Regions from separate parts of the Homo sapiens genome. Here region 2 is linked to region 1. Evidence: promoter capture Hi-C in human tissues and cell types (Jung and others, 2019). All regions are on one chromosome and are shown on one strand. Each heading gives the region's core, a stretch centred on a gene start or on the middle of the fragment in contact. The rest is flanking DNA. Distances are from core to core; before and after follow the strand shown. Region 1 holds the start of HECTD1 (HECT domain E3 ubiquitin protein ligase 1). Region 2 overlaps AKAP6 (A-kinase anchoring protein 6).

Region 1 (7,824 bases), core at 1,432-3,931:
ATTCTGACTGGACAAGTTATGACTTATATAAGAGGGAAAAAAATGGCTGTAAGGTCTATCTAGTAAGAATTCTCTTTTATATTTTTGCATATATACTAAGTTATAACCTCCCAATAAAACTGTTTAAACTCCCCAAACTTCAAAATGTTTCTACTACTCCAAATTTTCTACTCTTCTGCTACACGGTTAAGATCCAATTTATACCTTCCCAAACTGAAATTTACAAACCAATAATCGGCTTTAACAAAAGTACTGTCATATGACAACATCAATGAAGAAATGGGCAGTTCAAAACATATGTTTATTATCATCTCTTATTCCATAAATCAATTTCATGGTACAGAAATAGATACCTTTAAGAAAATAAATATTTGTATTTTCCCCAGTTCATGACATATTTTGAAAATGAACCAACCAAGCTATGGGTTAAAATTAATATTCCTACTAATTCCCATTCATTCAACAAATATGTATTTGTGTCATCGTAATCATCAGTCCTAGAGTTTCTTCACCTACCAATTTTTATTTCTTGGAAAAGTGTAAACACAAAACTCTTCAGGAATATTTTTAAAGATACGTGTTAAAATTCACTAGAGAAATTTCTACACAAACTGAAGTCAGCAAATGGTTGAAAACAGATGTCACTACAGTAACCCAAAGGAACATGATGAAGGAATGTACTTACGTTTCAAAACAACGATCCACGTTGTCAGACATCAAAAGCAGCATGCATAGCTGTTCAAGGGCTATTAGTTGCATGTCCCTTTCATCTCCCTGTCCCATCTGTAGCCATTCCAGCAATGTATCTGGGTCCACATCTGCCATGGTTTTTTAAAAGTCTCTTTGCTTAAATTTGAAAAGTAAAGGGAGAAAAGTCCTTTAAATTCCGGGACTGAACAGCTTGGGCTTAAATTTTTCTTCCTTTACATCTGCTAGAACCAAATTTTCATAGTGTCCTCCTAGCAATTAAAAAAGACTCCTAAGTACGTTTGGACGTAAGAGTGCTTAATGCAGTTTTTCAACTTTCCTTATCCGCCAGGTTTAACGTACAGATATCATACCAAATGAAAACCAGTTTTGCACAAGAGTATATAAGCTGATTAGGTTGCTGCTTAACTAGAAACCAGAGCTGTCTGTGTCAAAGACAGTCAGTCAAGCTTCAGGTCCCACTACTGCTATCACTAAAGTCTATGCCAAAAGGCAAAGAACACCTAACTAAAGGTTCTGTTTTTTCCAGCAAACTTCATCCCCCTCCTTCTCTACCCAAAACTGATCTTCAGATAAGGGTTAGATTCAGTATTTTGAGGAAACTCTAAACACCTTGATCCAATCCCCCTCCAAATTGTTTCTCCTTCAAAATTACCTCCAATTTCACATATTCTGCTGACTTCTCAATTTACTTCTATTTTAAAGATATCCAAATACAAACGACAATTATATACAAGATTTATCTATGAATAAAGAGTTGGTTAGGAATTTTGGCAGTCTTGGCAACTATTCTTAAAAGTTAAAAAAATAAAAAAATTAAAAAAGGAAAGGCTAAAAGTAAATGCAATGGACCAGCAGGTTACGGATCCGAACGAATGTAGGCCAACCTAGGGCCCTCTTTCCCCAGCTTCACAAGATAGGGCAGTTGGTTAAAAAAACAAAAACAAAACCGAGAAGCAACCCCAACAGGTAAGTCATTACAAAAGCGCCCCGTAAGCGCCCTGACTGGAGGACAGCTTTGGGTCCCACGTAACGCAGCCGCAAGTGTGGGAAGCCGGCGGCGGGGCGCGGTGGGCACCCAACGGCGGCGACCAGCGGGGTTGACCCCACACCCGGGGCCCGGCCGAGCCGGGCGCTGAGAGGCGCTGGCCCCCGCGCTGTGGTTCCCCAGCACCAAACCCCGCTAAGTTAACTACCTGTGTCTACGAGGAAGGGAAGTTCTGGAGAAGCAGCAGCAAGCCTTCGTGCCCGAGAGGAGGCCGCCGGGCCAGGCAGGGCGCCGGCTCTCCCGGGAGCTGCGCCCGGAACTCGAAGGCCTGGCAGCGAACCCTTCTCAAGGGCAAAAGGAGCCGGCCTGAGGCTCTGGCGCGGGCAACCGGGCCCCGCCGCCGGCAGGGCCCCGGGAGGGGAACAAAGGGGCCAGCGGGGAAGTCGGCAGCAGCCTGGCCGACCTCACTCGGCGCCGGGGTCTCGCTTTCCGCCACTCGCCGGGCGTCCGGGATCCGCGCCCCCACGCAGGGCCCTTCCGACGGTCCGAGGCGCTCCCGCCTCCCCTTCCCGCAGGCTCTTACTCGGGCTTGTCGTTCCAAACCGCTCCGATCCAGCTCCCAACAGGCCGCCGGCAGAGCCAGGCCCGGCCGCGGCCCTAGAGTTCCCAAGAAGCCGCAGGCCGCGCAGGTCGAACCGGGCAGGCGGCACAGGAAAAGCCGCGCCTCGTCCCTCCCCTTCCTCCGCGAGGACCTGGTGACAGGGAAGCGAGAGGTTCTCGCGTGCGGCAGCAGCCAGCGGACGTCCAGTCCCCAGCACGCGGCTCCTCAGGCCCTGCAACTCAGAGGCCCGCGCGGTGCTGCGGGCGACGGCGGCGGCGGCGCGGCGGGGAGGCCCAGTCCATCGCGAACCGGGAGGGGGAGGGGAGGAGGGTCGAGGGAGAGCCAGGCGGGGAAGCTGCCGAGGGCAGCCGAGCCCGGCGGAGGCGGAGCAAATCCACTCCCCCGGCGGCGACCCCGCCGGCGGCCACCTGGGGCGCTGCGGGACGGCCGACCGCCGCGCAGGGGCGCCAAACCGGGTACGCCGCGTCGCCGTCCCTGCCCCGGAGCTCTCGCCCCCGCCGCCTCGGGCTGTGTCGTACGTTTCTGCCGCGGCTTTTCTATGGTGCGCCCTGGCCCCCTTTTCGCTTCCCTGTCAGTCCGAGCGCGCTCATGCACGCACGTCCAGCTTGCTTGGCGCCGTGGCTAACACTTTGCGCGCTCCTGCGGAGGGCGTCGCACGGCACAGCACAGCAAAGCTGCGGCCCAACCTGTCCCCGCTGAGCCTTCCGCCCAGGCCACCCGCACTCAGCCACGATCTTCCCTCCTCGCGCACGGAAGTGCGTCGCGTAAGGAAGGCGTCTCCCCCCGCTCCTGGGAGGCCGACCGCCTGGCGGTTCACCCCAAAGAAAACCCTTCAGAGCAACCCTGGGAAAGAGGTGCTGCCGACGATTATCAACGTTGTACAGATGAGACACTGAGGCTCCAGGAAAGCGCAAATGCAGGCCCAGCGCCGTGCCCGGTCGGCAGCAGCACTGAGAGTGCACTTTTGACTACGTTTCTTGTGGCTTGTGGTCACAAGTATGTCTGTGGTTATTCTTTTCAAACTTTATTTCACACGCATTCAGAATAAAGGATGCATGCTTATAGGACGTAGTTGGAGCCCGGAGACGTCCTACTGTACTCTCACTTTCAGCTTTTAAACAAAAAGAAAAATTAATACGACATGATAGTGTTTGAGACATGGTCCCTCAGGCAACCAGAGGAGCTGCTAGGTATGAGTAAAGAACAGAATTTGGGTCCGCTGCGTTTCCTGTAATCCCAGCACTTTATGATTTTACTCTCTTGAGGCCCGGAGTTCGAGACCAGCCTGAGCAACATAGACCTGGTCTCTGCAAAAAAATTAAAATTTAAAAAATAATTACCCAGATGCGGTGACGCACACCTATGGTCCCAGCTACTGGAGCGGTTGAGATGGGATGATCCCTCGAGCCCAAGAAATTGAGGCTGCAGTGAGCTTTGATAATGCCACCTCACTCCAGCCTGGGCGACTAAGCAAATTTGTCATTTCCAAAATACTGGTTCTTTTTTTTCTTTCTTTTTTACTACTTCTTTAGAAAAAGAACCAGTATTTTGGAAATGACAAATTTGTACTTCAGATAGCTATCCGCGCATGTCCCGTTGTCGCAGGTAATGGTCCGTTTAGGTATCCTGTTAACGAAACAAGAGGAAAAAGAGGATTCAACTATTTTGTCCCAAGTACAACACATGAGGATAATTATTTAGATGTCATGAGTGTGAATTGGAGCTGCCAGGAAACTTCAAGAAGGAAGTGGCATTCCCTCTGGACCTTGAAGAATGGGTACAATGTAGACACTGAAAGGAAAGGGAAGAACATAAAGCCTGATATGTTCCTAGACATAGGAAAGGTCACCTGTGCCCCCAGCAAAGAACCAACAGTAAGCAACAGAGAGAGAAATTTGGAGCTAAAGTGGGGAAGGCCTTGAATGAGGAATGCAGAAATTAGGCTGAGCTAAGTAGCAAGTTCTGGACTACAACACTGGAAAAACTAGTCTTAAGAAGACTAATTATGGAAAGTGTCTAGAACGACTAAAAGGATCTATCTAGACGAGACTAGCTGGAGGTTGTCGAAATGCTGCAATAATGGAGGAAAGAAAAGTCTAGTTATTGGCAATATGAATGGGGAAGAAATCTAAAAATAATTTTTGAAAGAAGATATATCAGAATTTAAATGATTAACTTAAAAATTTCCGTCCAGGCTCCATGGCTCACACCCGTAATCCCAGCACTTTGGGAGGCAGAGGCAGGGGGATCACTTGAGCCCAGGAGTAGGAGACCAGCCTAGGCAACATAGGGAGACCCTGTCTCTACAAATAATTTTTAAAATTAGCTGGGTGTGGTGGTGCACACCTGTAGTCCCAGCTACTCAGGAGTCAAAGGCAGGAGGATCACCTGAGCCCTCGAGGTCGAAGCTGCAGTGAGCCATGATCATGCCACTGCACTACAGCCTGGGCAATAGAGCAAGACCCTGCCAAAACAAAAAACAAAAACCCTTAACGTAGAAAGAGGACTTGGAAGCTAGGAAAATGGTGATGCTATTAACAAAAAATAGAAAAGTTAGAAAAAGGGATTATACCTTTACCAAGTTTTTTGTTGTTTTTTTTTTTTTTTTTTTGAGACGGAGTCTCGTTCTGTTGCCCAGGCTGGAGTGCAGTGGCATAATCTCGGCTCACTGCAAGCTCTGCATCCCGGGTTCATGCCATTCTGCTGCCTCAGCCTCCCGAGTAGCTGGGACTACAGGTACTGGCACCCACCACCACGCCTGGCTAATTTTTTGTATTTTTTAGTGGAGATGGGGTTTCACCATGTTAGCCAGGATGGTCTCGATCTCCTGACCTTGTGATCCGTCCGCCTTGGCCTCCCAAAGTGCTGGGATTACAGGCATGAGCCACTGCGCCTGGCCACCTTTACCAAGTTTTTAAGATATATATTTTTTTATCCTGCACTATCTCTACATGTACCACCCACCCACTTCCTGCCCGCAAGATTAATGTCTAGTGTGCTTTAAAGAAACCTTATCAAAAGAATGCTGTGACACTTATTGCACTTTTTAAAGATGTTATTATCATATTTATTTTGATTTTTATTTAGAGGCAGGGTCTTGCTCTGTGGCTCAGGCTGGAGTGCAGCAGTGTGATCCTAAATGACTGCAGCTTCCAACTCGTGGGCTCAAGGCGATTCTCCTGCCTCAGCCTCCGGAGTAGCTGGGACTACAGGCCCATGCCACTACACCCAGCTATTTTTATTTTTTTGTAGAGACAGGATCTAACTATGTTGCCCAGGCTGGTCTCCAACTCCTGGGCTCAAGCAATGCTCCAGCCTTGGCCGCCAGAAGTGCTGGGATTATAGGAATGAGCCACATGCCCGGCCCATGTTATTATTTTAAACTCAAACAGAAAAAAAGAATTCAAGCATGAGATCCCAGAACAAGAGCATTAAAGGAGAGAAATGAAGTCATGAAGACAACAAAATATCCGGATAAAGGCAACTGACCAGACTTGAATACTTATCCCAAGAAACCAGGAACTGTTTACATGTTGGTATTTCCCATTGCTTCCAAAATCCAAGAATCATAGACCATCGAGAACTGCTCTGTGCCAGGCTCAGTGTAAGGCTCAGTAGTCACAGACCTCTTCCTCAATAAAGGTAGATGTAAACACACTCCTCTGAGTCTCCTCTATCATACCGCTTATTAGGTGATATTGTCAGGTACATGCTGGGAACATTAAGGAGGTAGGAGATGGCATCTTGGAAAGCTTCAGGAATGAAGTGTGAATTAAATCTCAGATAATGAGTCACAGCTGGCCAGATAATTAGGAAAAGCATATGGACAGGCACAGAGGTACGAAGAGGGTCCCTCTTGGCAGAATGAAGCAACAGGCTGCCTTTTGACTGAGGCTCCACATTGGCGAAGGAACTTCGATGTGTACACAGTCGCTGGGATCAACTCACAGGACTATTAATAAAAAGGAAGATATTCATCATACAAATCTAAACTCATTTCATCAACTGGTATGTACTATGAATTAATTTTCTTTTCTTTCCTTTTTTTTTTTTTTTTTTTTTGTGACGGAGTTTCACTCTTGTTGCCCAGGCTGGAGTGCAATGGTGCGATCTTGGCTCACCGCAACCTCCGCCTCCTGGGTTCAAGTGATTCTCCTGCCTCAGCCTCCCGAGTAGCTGAGATTACAGGCATGCACCACCATGCCTGGCTAATTTTTTTGTGTTTTTAGTAGAGACGGGGTTTCTCCATGTTGGTCAGCTGGTCTCAAACTCCCGACCTCAGGTAATCCACCCACCTCAGCCTCCCAAAGTGCTGGGATTACAGGTGTGAGCCACCACGCCCGGCCTATGAATTAATTTTCTAGAGTTAACCTTATAGTTATGAATAGCACAACAATAAACCATTATGTTTTTTGTGTATCAGAGGCATAATTGGTAGATGAAAACCTATAAAATATGCTACAGAAAATGTTTGGACATGTCTTCAAGTTTGAACTACAAATGTAAGTGTCCCTGGCTATCCTCAACTTCTGTGAAGTTCTGGGTATGAAAGAATGTGGTCTGCAATTGGAAAGAGTGGGAAACTAAGTTTGGTTGGTACCTAGAGTGGTGTTAGTGGCTGGAAGAGATCATTGAAGTTAATTGGAGACAATTTCTTAAGGGTCTTGAACACCGTAATGAGTTTGAACTTTGTTCTTTGGGCAAGGGGAGCCTTTGGATATTTAAAACAAGAAAGTACTGAGATGGCATGTAGGTTTTAGGATTATTAACCACTTTAAAGTTAAAATCTGTTTCTATTATGCTTTACAGTTAGCAAGATATGTTATTTTATTTTATTTTTTGTTTTTTGGGGTTTTTTTTTTGTTTTTGAGACAGAGACTCGCTCTGTCATCCAGGATGGAGTGCAGTGGCACAATCTCAGCACACTGCAACCTCTGCCTCCCAGGTTCAAGCGATTCTCGTACCTCAGCGTCCTGAGTAGCTGGGATTACAGGCCTGCGCCACCATGCCTGACTAATTTTTGTATTTTTAGTAGACACAGGGTTTCACCATGTTGCCCAAGTTGATCTCCACCTCCTGGACTCAAGGGATCCATCCACCTCAGCCTCCCAAAGTGCTGAGATTACAGGGATGAGCCCCAGCGCCTGGCTACAGTTAGAAAGATACTTTAATATATATTATTATTTAGTCTTTATACATTAGTTTATTATATATATAAAATGATTAACACTTAAAATAGGTATTTTCCGTGTTTTTATTTATTTATTTATTTGAGACAGAGTCTTACTCTGTCACCCAGCTGGAGTGCAGTGGCACGATCTCAGCTCACTGCAGCCTCCACCTCCTGGGTTCAAGCGATTCTTGTGCCTCACGAATAGCTGGGACTACAGGCGCACACCACCAAGCCTGGCTAATTTTTGTATTTTTAGTAGAGACAGGGCTTCTCCATGTTGGCCAGACTGGTTTCGAACTCCTGGCCTCAAGTGATCCACCCTCTTCAGCCTCC
Region 2 (7,824 bases), core at 1,772-4,271, 1.3 Mb after region 1:
TCCAGAATATTGATGACTGGGAACTGTCTGAAATGAATTCAGATTCTGAAATCTATCCAACCTATCATGTCAAAAAGAAGCATACAAGGCTAGGCAGGGTGTCTCCAAGCTCATCTAGTGACATAGCCTCTTCACTAGGGGAGAGCATTGAATCTGGGCCCCTGAGTGACATTCTTTCTGATGAGGAGTCCAGTATGCCTCTCGCTGGCATGAAAAAGTATGCTGATGAGAAGTCAGAAAGAGCTTCATCCTCTGAGAAAAATGAGAGCCATTCTGCCACTAAATCAGCTTTAATTCAGAAACTGATGCAAGATATTCAGCACCAAGACAACTATGAAGCCATATGGGAAAAAATAGAGGTAAGGTGGTTTTCTTAACATGAATGATTTCTCACTTGAGTTTTGGAAGTATTGCTGGGAGAAGGTCACACTCCTACACTCTATTATAAAATGTATGGCTATTTTTGATAAATCTGATTCTCCAAAGAAAGAAAAGAAAAAGCACAATGATCAATGCATGTGACAAAGAGTATGAATCACTAGGAATTGCCCTTGTCAGTGCATTAGCTTGATGTGCTCCTGCCTGGTATAGAATTCTTTGTTGAAATTGTTCAAATCTATCATGACTACTGATGAATGCTGGAACCCCTTGGATCTAATACAAAATTAAATAGAATGATAGCTGTGCACACACAAGTAGCTCAGGAATATATGCATAGACTATTCCAGTTACCCCAGAGTGTTTTTATTCATTTCTTCTGACTCCAGAATACATTCCACATCTCCAATGTTAACTTCTTGTAGAAATAGACCAGACATTTCTAATTTATTAGGGATCTTTTTTTTCTTTACTCTTCCTCCTCTTTGAGAACTCTGGCTAATAACCATATTACCTATACATGTACCACCCATGGACTCTGGGATGTGAAGTTGACATTTTGGCTAAATCTGTACTTTTGAACAAATTACTAGATATGACGTAATGTTTGAGGACAGACTTATCAAAAATCTCAGGACCGACGGCTTGGGCAATGTAGGGAGACCCCATCTCTATATTAGCCAGGAGCGGTGGCACACACCTGTGGTCCCAGCTACTCAGGAGGCTGAGGCAGGAGGATTGCTTGAGCTGAGGAGGTTGAGGCTGCAGTGAGTTGTGGTCATGCCACTGCACTCCAACCTGGGCAACAGAGTGAGACCCTGTCTCAAAAAAAAAAAAAAATCTCAGGACTGAGCTCCATAGTATAAGTAATTATTTGATCTTTTAAGAGGCATCTGGGCAAAGAGATTCACTATGATTACTGTGGTAATGGCCGTTTCCTCAGGAGGCCATTGGAAGTAGATCCAGCTGACTTGATAATTGTTAATGGTTTCTTGTTTGATGACATATCAATGGCCATGCTTGTCTACATATAATTTGTGTATGACTTTATGGTATGCAACGCTCTCCCACATGCTTTTTTTTTTTTTTTTTTTTTCCTCTGAGCAGAGTTTTGCTCCTGTTGCCCAGGCTGGAGTGGAATGGCACCATCTCAGCTCACTTCAACCTCCACCTCCCAGGTTCAAGAGATTACCCTGCCTCAGCCTCTCGTGTAGCTGGGATTATAGGCCCCCACAACCATGCCCAGCTAATTTTTGTATTTTTAGTAGAGACGGGGTTTCGCCATGTTGGCCAGGCTAGTCTCGAACTCCTGACCTCAGGTGATCCGCCTGCCTTGGCATCCCAAAGTGCTGGGATTACAGGCGTGAGCCACTGTGCGTGGCCCATACATTTTTTTTTTTTACTTGATCTTCACAGCTGTCCTGTGAAGGAAGCAGGCCATGCCAGATTATTCTCGCTTTACAGAGATGGAAACAGCCTCCATGAGCTTAAGTGATTTTTCTCAAGCTAAAATAGATAGATAGATAGATAGATAGATAGATAGATAGATAGATAGATAGATAGATAGATATAAAGAGATGGTAGGTAGCTAGATAGAGACAAACAGACAGACACAGATAGACAGACTGACAGACAGACAGGCAGAGACAGAGACAGACAAACCAGACAGACCTTTTGTGTAGGAAGCTGAGACGCAAACTCACGTCTTCTGATTCTTAGTCCAGTTTTCTTCTATAGTATCATGTTGCCTCCCTGAAAGGGGTTGTAGTTTCTCCTTCGCCGGGAAACTATAAGATAGGAGAGAAGAAAGAGTTCAGGACCCATTCAGACTGGATAGAGAATATTGATGTAACTGCCATGGGCACTCCTCCTAATTTTTTTTTGTTCTGTTTTTTGTTTTTTTTACATCCATTCGTTGTCGAATACTACTCTGAGACCAGCATTGTGCTAGACACTGGATAAAGGTATAGTGCATATGGATAGAATAACCTGGAGGAAGAAAATGCAGGTTTATAAACAAAGAGGAAAAAGTTATCAAATATACAGCAGTAATAACATATTAATCATCATTAACATATATCAAGTATTCGTGTATCTAGTCCTCACAACAACCCTGATATTAACCTTATTTTATGGCTGAGGAGACAGGCTGAGAGAGACCATGCAGTCTGCTCCAGAGCCCATATTATTAACTAAATGCCCTCATTCCTGTCCATGAGGAAGTGATCAATAAGTACCGAATATAAAAACTGTGGTATTGTAGAGTAGTAATAATATCAGTGGAGCTAGAATTTGACTGGGCAGTTCTTGTGAAGTACTAAACCTTAAGTGGAGCTTTGAAGGATGTACAGGATTCAGACAGATAAAGGAAAAGGAAGGTGGCGTTTCAGGTAGGAGGAGCATAAACTAAAACACAGAGGTAGAAATGAGAATGAGCATGGATATGGGGTACAAAGAGAGCTGTCCTGGTTGGAAGGTTTGTCATCAGAGATCAGTGAAAGTTTCCATACCTAAAGTAGGTATGGAAAGGCCATGAAGGCCACGCCAAGGCAATTAGAATTTGTTCACCAGGCACCCACAGCAACTTCTCTGAAAGGGACTGACAGTAATAACTAATACTTCTTAAGCTTTTATTTTGTGTTTGGCTCTGTACTAAGTATTTTACGTGGCTTACCCTACTTAAGTCCCGGAAGGGAGGATTTTTTCAGATGAAGAAACTAAGGCAGTATGTGATTAGGAAACTTGCTCAAGTCCTCACAGCTAGTAAGTACAAAGCCAGGATTTGAACCCATAACCAGCATTCTTAAAGCAGTGTAGGCCCTGGTCTCTAGTAGTCTTTCCAGAAGGGTTAATTGGCAATAACAGAAAGATGGTCCTGGCAGACATGGCGGTGACCAGGGCAGAGGTGTTGGCCTGTGGCAGCCAACCTGAGGAACTGCTGTGATGTGGATCAGGCAAGAGGAAGGGAGGGGAGTGTTGAAAAAGTGAATGAGTCCAGAAAACTGGTTCTAGACCTTGCTAGAAAGAATTCAGGAGCCATTCAGTGATTAAAGCCTGGTGTGGCCCACAGCTTGGCATATTCCATTCTGAGCCTTGTTTCATCTTTTGTAAAGAGATGTTTTAACCCGATGATGACTATGATACCAACTTCCAATTTGATTCCACAGTTCTACAAAAATGCAGCTAGGTTTTCAGCATCTGGAGACTGGTGTGTCTTTAATAGAAGGAAACATTTGGATGAGTAGCTGGTTTGAAGTAGAGGTGGTGCAGGTAATTTTTTAAAAACCGTGCATAGATAGCATATGATGAAACTTTTAAGAAGAAATGGTTTATAGGCAGTTGAAAAATCCCATACTGGAGTTGGGATATGAGGGAAGAGGCTAAAAGAAGATCAAGTTCCTTCCTCAGGCCAGCTGGAAATTGTTAATGGTTTGATTGTTAATGGTGGATAATTGTTAATGGTTTCTTGTTTGATGACATATAAATGGCCACGCTTGGCTACATATAATTTGTATATGACTTTATGATATGCAGCGCTCTCCCGCATGCTCTCCCTTACTACACCAGATGAGGGCAGCTGCCAACCTCCAGGTCAACTGGCCTTGGCTATCACACTCTAGCTTTGGTCTCCTCCTTATAGTGACCCAGAGAACCCATTCTGCCTGGAAAATATAATGACAGAGGATATTACTTAATATCTTCTTTATAGAAGGCATCTGCTAGGCATTTTACCTATAATAACTCTCCCATAAAATTCTTATAACAACCCTCTAAGGTAGGTTTTTAATCCTAAATTAACCACTAACCACTTCTCTCCTGTTCCATTCTGGTTCTAGCCCCCATCACCTCCTTCCTGGATTACTGCAGTAGCCTCCTAACTGGTCTCTCTGCTTCTATTCTTCTCTCACTACAGTCTATTTCCAATAGAGTAGCCAGAGTGATCCTTTTAAAAGATAAATCAGATTATGTCATCCCTCTGCTCCAAACTCCACAATAGAGGGTTGCCATTGTATTCAGAGGTCCTACATGGACTGTTCCCTGATTTCCTCTCTGACATCCTTTCCAATGACTTTTCCCCATGCTCACTACACTCCCTTTCCTAGAACATACTTGGCATGCTTCTTGCCTTTAGGATCATTGTCAGCTGCTTTTGTCTACATCCTCTCCAGCAGATGCCCTCATTTATAATTCCTTCACCTGTTCCAAGTCTCAGCTAAAATATTATCTTCTCAGAGAGGACTACTCTGACCATCTTTTAAAAGATGTAACCCAGCTGGGCGCCGTGGCTCATGCCTGTAATCCCAGCACTTTGGGAGGCTGAGGTGGGCAGATCACTTGAGGTCAGGAGTTTGAGACCAGCCTGGCCAACATGGTGAAACCCCATCTCTACTAAATAAACAAAAATTAGCCAGGTGTGATGGTGTGCACCTGTAATCCCAGCTATTTGGGAGGCTGAGGCAGGAGAATTGCTTGAACCCGGGAGGTGGAGGTTCAGTGAGCTTGGGAGCGTGCCATGGCACTCCAGCCTGGGCAACGGAGCAAGACTTGGTCTCAAAAAAAAAAAAAAAAAAAGGTGTAATCTGACCTTTTCTTTCTTTTACAGATCTCACCACATTCTGTAATTTTTGTTTGTTTGTTTGTTTGTTTGTTTGTTTGTTGAGATGGAGTCTTGCTCTGTCGCCCAGGCTGGAGTGCAGTGGCACGATCTCGGCTCACTGCAAGCTCCGCCTCCCAGGTTCACGCCATTCTCCTGCCTCTGCCTTCTGAGGTAGCTGGGACTACAGGTGCCTGCCACCACACCCGGCTAATTTTTTGTATTTTTTTTTTTTAGTAGAGATGGGGTTTCACCGTGAGAGCCAGGATGGTCTCTATCTCCTGACCTTGTGATCCGCCGGCCTCGGCCTCCCAAAGTGCTGGGATTATAGGCGTGAGCCACCACGCCCGGCCTACATTCTGTAATTTTATATAATTTTCTAATGTAGTATATTTATTATTTTTGGTCTGTCTCCCTCTGTTAGAATGGGAACTCTGTGAGGGCAGGAATATTTATCTGTTTAGTTTGTTAATGAATCTCATGTACCTAGAACAATGCCTGGTGTACAGTAATTGCTCGATAAAGACTACTGAATGACTGAATCCCCATTTTAGAACAGAGGAAACTGAGTTTAGAAAGATGAACGAACAATTTTTCCTATGCAGCACAGCTAATAAGTTACAGAGCCAGGCTTCAGGCCACCATCTGTTTTATTCCTCCCACAAGATAAAGACTTGGGAATAGATGAATTCCCTAAAAGAAGGAGACTAGATGGAGAAAAGCAGAGGGACTGATGTCTGAGATTCAAGTTGTAGCTCAGTTATGAGACAGGAACAAGGAAGAGATCCAGTTGTGGGGATCAGAAGGGACAGAAAGAATTCTTGGGTATTAAATACATGGAGAGAGAGAAAGAGATACTAAATAAAATGGACATTAGCTTTGTTCTTTGCAAAAGATAGATCAAGAATAATAAAGACTAAGGGGAAAAAACCCAACAACCTTTAGATTTGTTTGAAATAATTAATGAAGACCTTAGGAAAAAAACAGACTTAATGAAGGAGTGAAAGTAGATATAGGTGATTAAGAAGTAAAAAACAATCATTCCTAATATTTCCTGGAATTGTATTGAAAACACAATATGAGGCAAAGGGCAGTAGTTGAAAGTAAAGTCAAAAGTCTTTTTTAAAAAATTGAAGCTTATTTGAAGGCAGAAGTGGCAAGAGAGATTGAAGTAGCTAGAAAGACTATGTAAATGTGGACACACTGAGAAAGAAGGGAGGGTATGTGGAACTCATAGGGAGAATTATGGCCTGGTATCAAGAATGATAAAATACTGAAAAATATATCCTGCTTCTAATTCCACTTCTGTCAAATGGAAAGTGGAGTCCATTAACTCATCATGGCAGAGTCCTCCACTCTGTCTTCTCTGAGTCACACAGAGCAGAAGGCAGGAGGCACATAGAAGCCCAGTAACTGCAAGAGAGTGTGGGGCTGTGATAGAATCTCCAGTAGGTTCCTGTCAGTCCCCACCCCTCACATTTGTATCTTTCTTATAATAGACTAATTTTGTAAAACAAAAGATTCTTTTTTTCTTTTTCTTTTCTTTTTTCTTTTCTTTTTTTTTTTTTGAGATGGAGTCTTGCTCTGTCACCCAGGCTGGAGTGCAGTGGCACGGTCTCAGCTCACTGCACCTCCGCCTCCTGGGTCTCCTGGGTTCAAGCCATTCTCCTGCCTCAGCCTCCCCAGTAGCTGGGATTACAGGCACCCACCACCATGCCCAGCTAATTTTTGTATTTTTTTTAGTAGAAACGGGGTTTCATCACGTTGGCCAGACTGGTCTCGAACTTCTGACCTTGTGATCCACTTGCCTTGGCCTCCCGAAGTGCTGTGATTACAGGCGTGAGCCACCGCGCCTGGCCAAGATTTCTTTATTCTTTGGGAAAATTGATTTTTGGATAATATATTCACATGGTTTTAAATCATAGACATTTAAAAATACTCAGTAAATCCCCCTCTCATCCTTATCACTCCATCTTGAATTCTCACTTCACCATATGTGATCACTATTGTTTTTAGTACTTACATATTTTTTAAGAAGGCCTTTACATATATAAGCCAATGAAAACAAAAATTTTAAGGCAATATTTTTAAAACTGGGGAATCAGTTGTAACCATTCCCTTTCCACAAATAAAAACTCCTAGTAAACTCTGAGTTCCCAAGGGATGGTCTGTTCCCAATCTTTTTCTGAGGGTTGAGGGGATTTTGCTTAACTCTGGCTGATTTACCCAGAACCCATTGTGTGAATAAATTACTAGAGCATCTTAGGTCTGAGTGCTCAACACCTACGGGAACTTCTCAAGGCCTAAAATTCAAAGCCAGAAGCGAAGTCAAGTAATGGAAACAGACACATTTGTTCCGATACATTCAAGAAATAGAATAAAAGCAATAAGGAGATAAAAGGGAAGAATATATCTGGAACAGATGAAATCAAACAGAATGGTGAAAAATTAACTTAGCATGATACCTGGACATATGTGGTATAAGTAATAGGGATTGGCAAATTATGGCCTGTGAGCCAAATGTGGCCCAATACCTGCTTTTTAAAATATTATTTTATTGGAACTCAGCCATGGTGTTTGTCTGTGGCTGCTTTTGTATTTCAGTGACAGAGTTGAATAGTTGTGACAGAGACCATGTGGCCTAAAAAGATTAAAGATTTACTCTCTTGCCTTTTACAGAACAAATTTGCTGACCCCTGCTCTTGAGTAAGGAAGAAGAGAGGGAGATAATTTCTGATCAGCATCTACTGTGTGCCAGGATCTGAAGTAGATTCTTTCATTTAATTTATATAACAAGCATATGGAAGAGCTGTTATTGGTCTCATTTTACAGATGAGGACTCCAGGCTTAAA

The links. The method cuts DNA at HindIII sites, captures the fragments that hold promoters and counts their contacts. A contact is called where the count stands out against the background at its distance.
Region 2: a contact is called between a fragment that was not itself captured here and the fragment with the promoter of HECTD1 in region 1, in 1 of the 25 tissues and cell types used here (dorsolateral prefrontal cortex).

Annotation. Positions count from the first base shown.
Region 1 is chr14:31,205,112-31,212,935 of GRCh38, forward strand. HECTD1 (HECT domain E3 ubiquitin protein ligase 1) reads right to left here and starts at 2,682. Exons shown (of 43, transcript NM_015382.4): 1 at 1,905-2,682; 2 at 686-846. The coding sequence starts at 825. RefSeq lists enhancers at 1,574-2,087, 2,600-3,111, 3,089-3,258, 3,112-3,623 and silencers at 1,729-1,938, 2,059-2,268, 2,569-2,908. The HindIII fragment of the contact is 13,658 bases long and covers 1-7,824 here.
Region 2 is chr14:32,546,641-32,554,464 of GRCh38, forward strand. AKAP6 (A-kinase anchoring protein 6) reads left to right here. Exons shown (of 14, transcript NM_004274.5): 4 at 1-359. Among named protein-coding and RNA genes, the nearest start is that of AKAP6, 220 kb to the left of the region's middle. The HindIII fragment of the contact is 3,069 bases long and covers 1,488-4,556 here.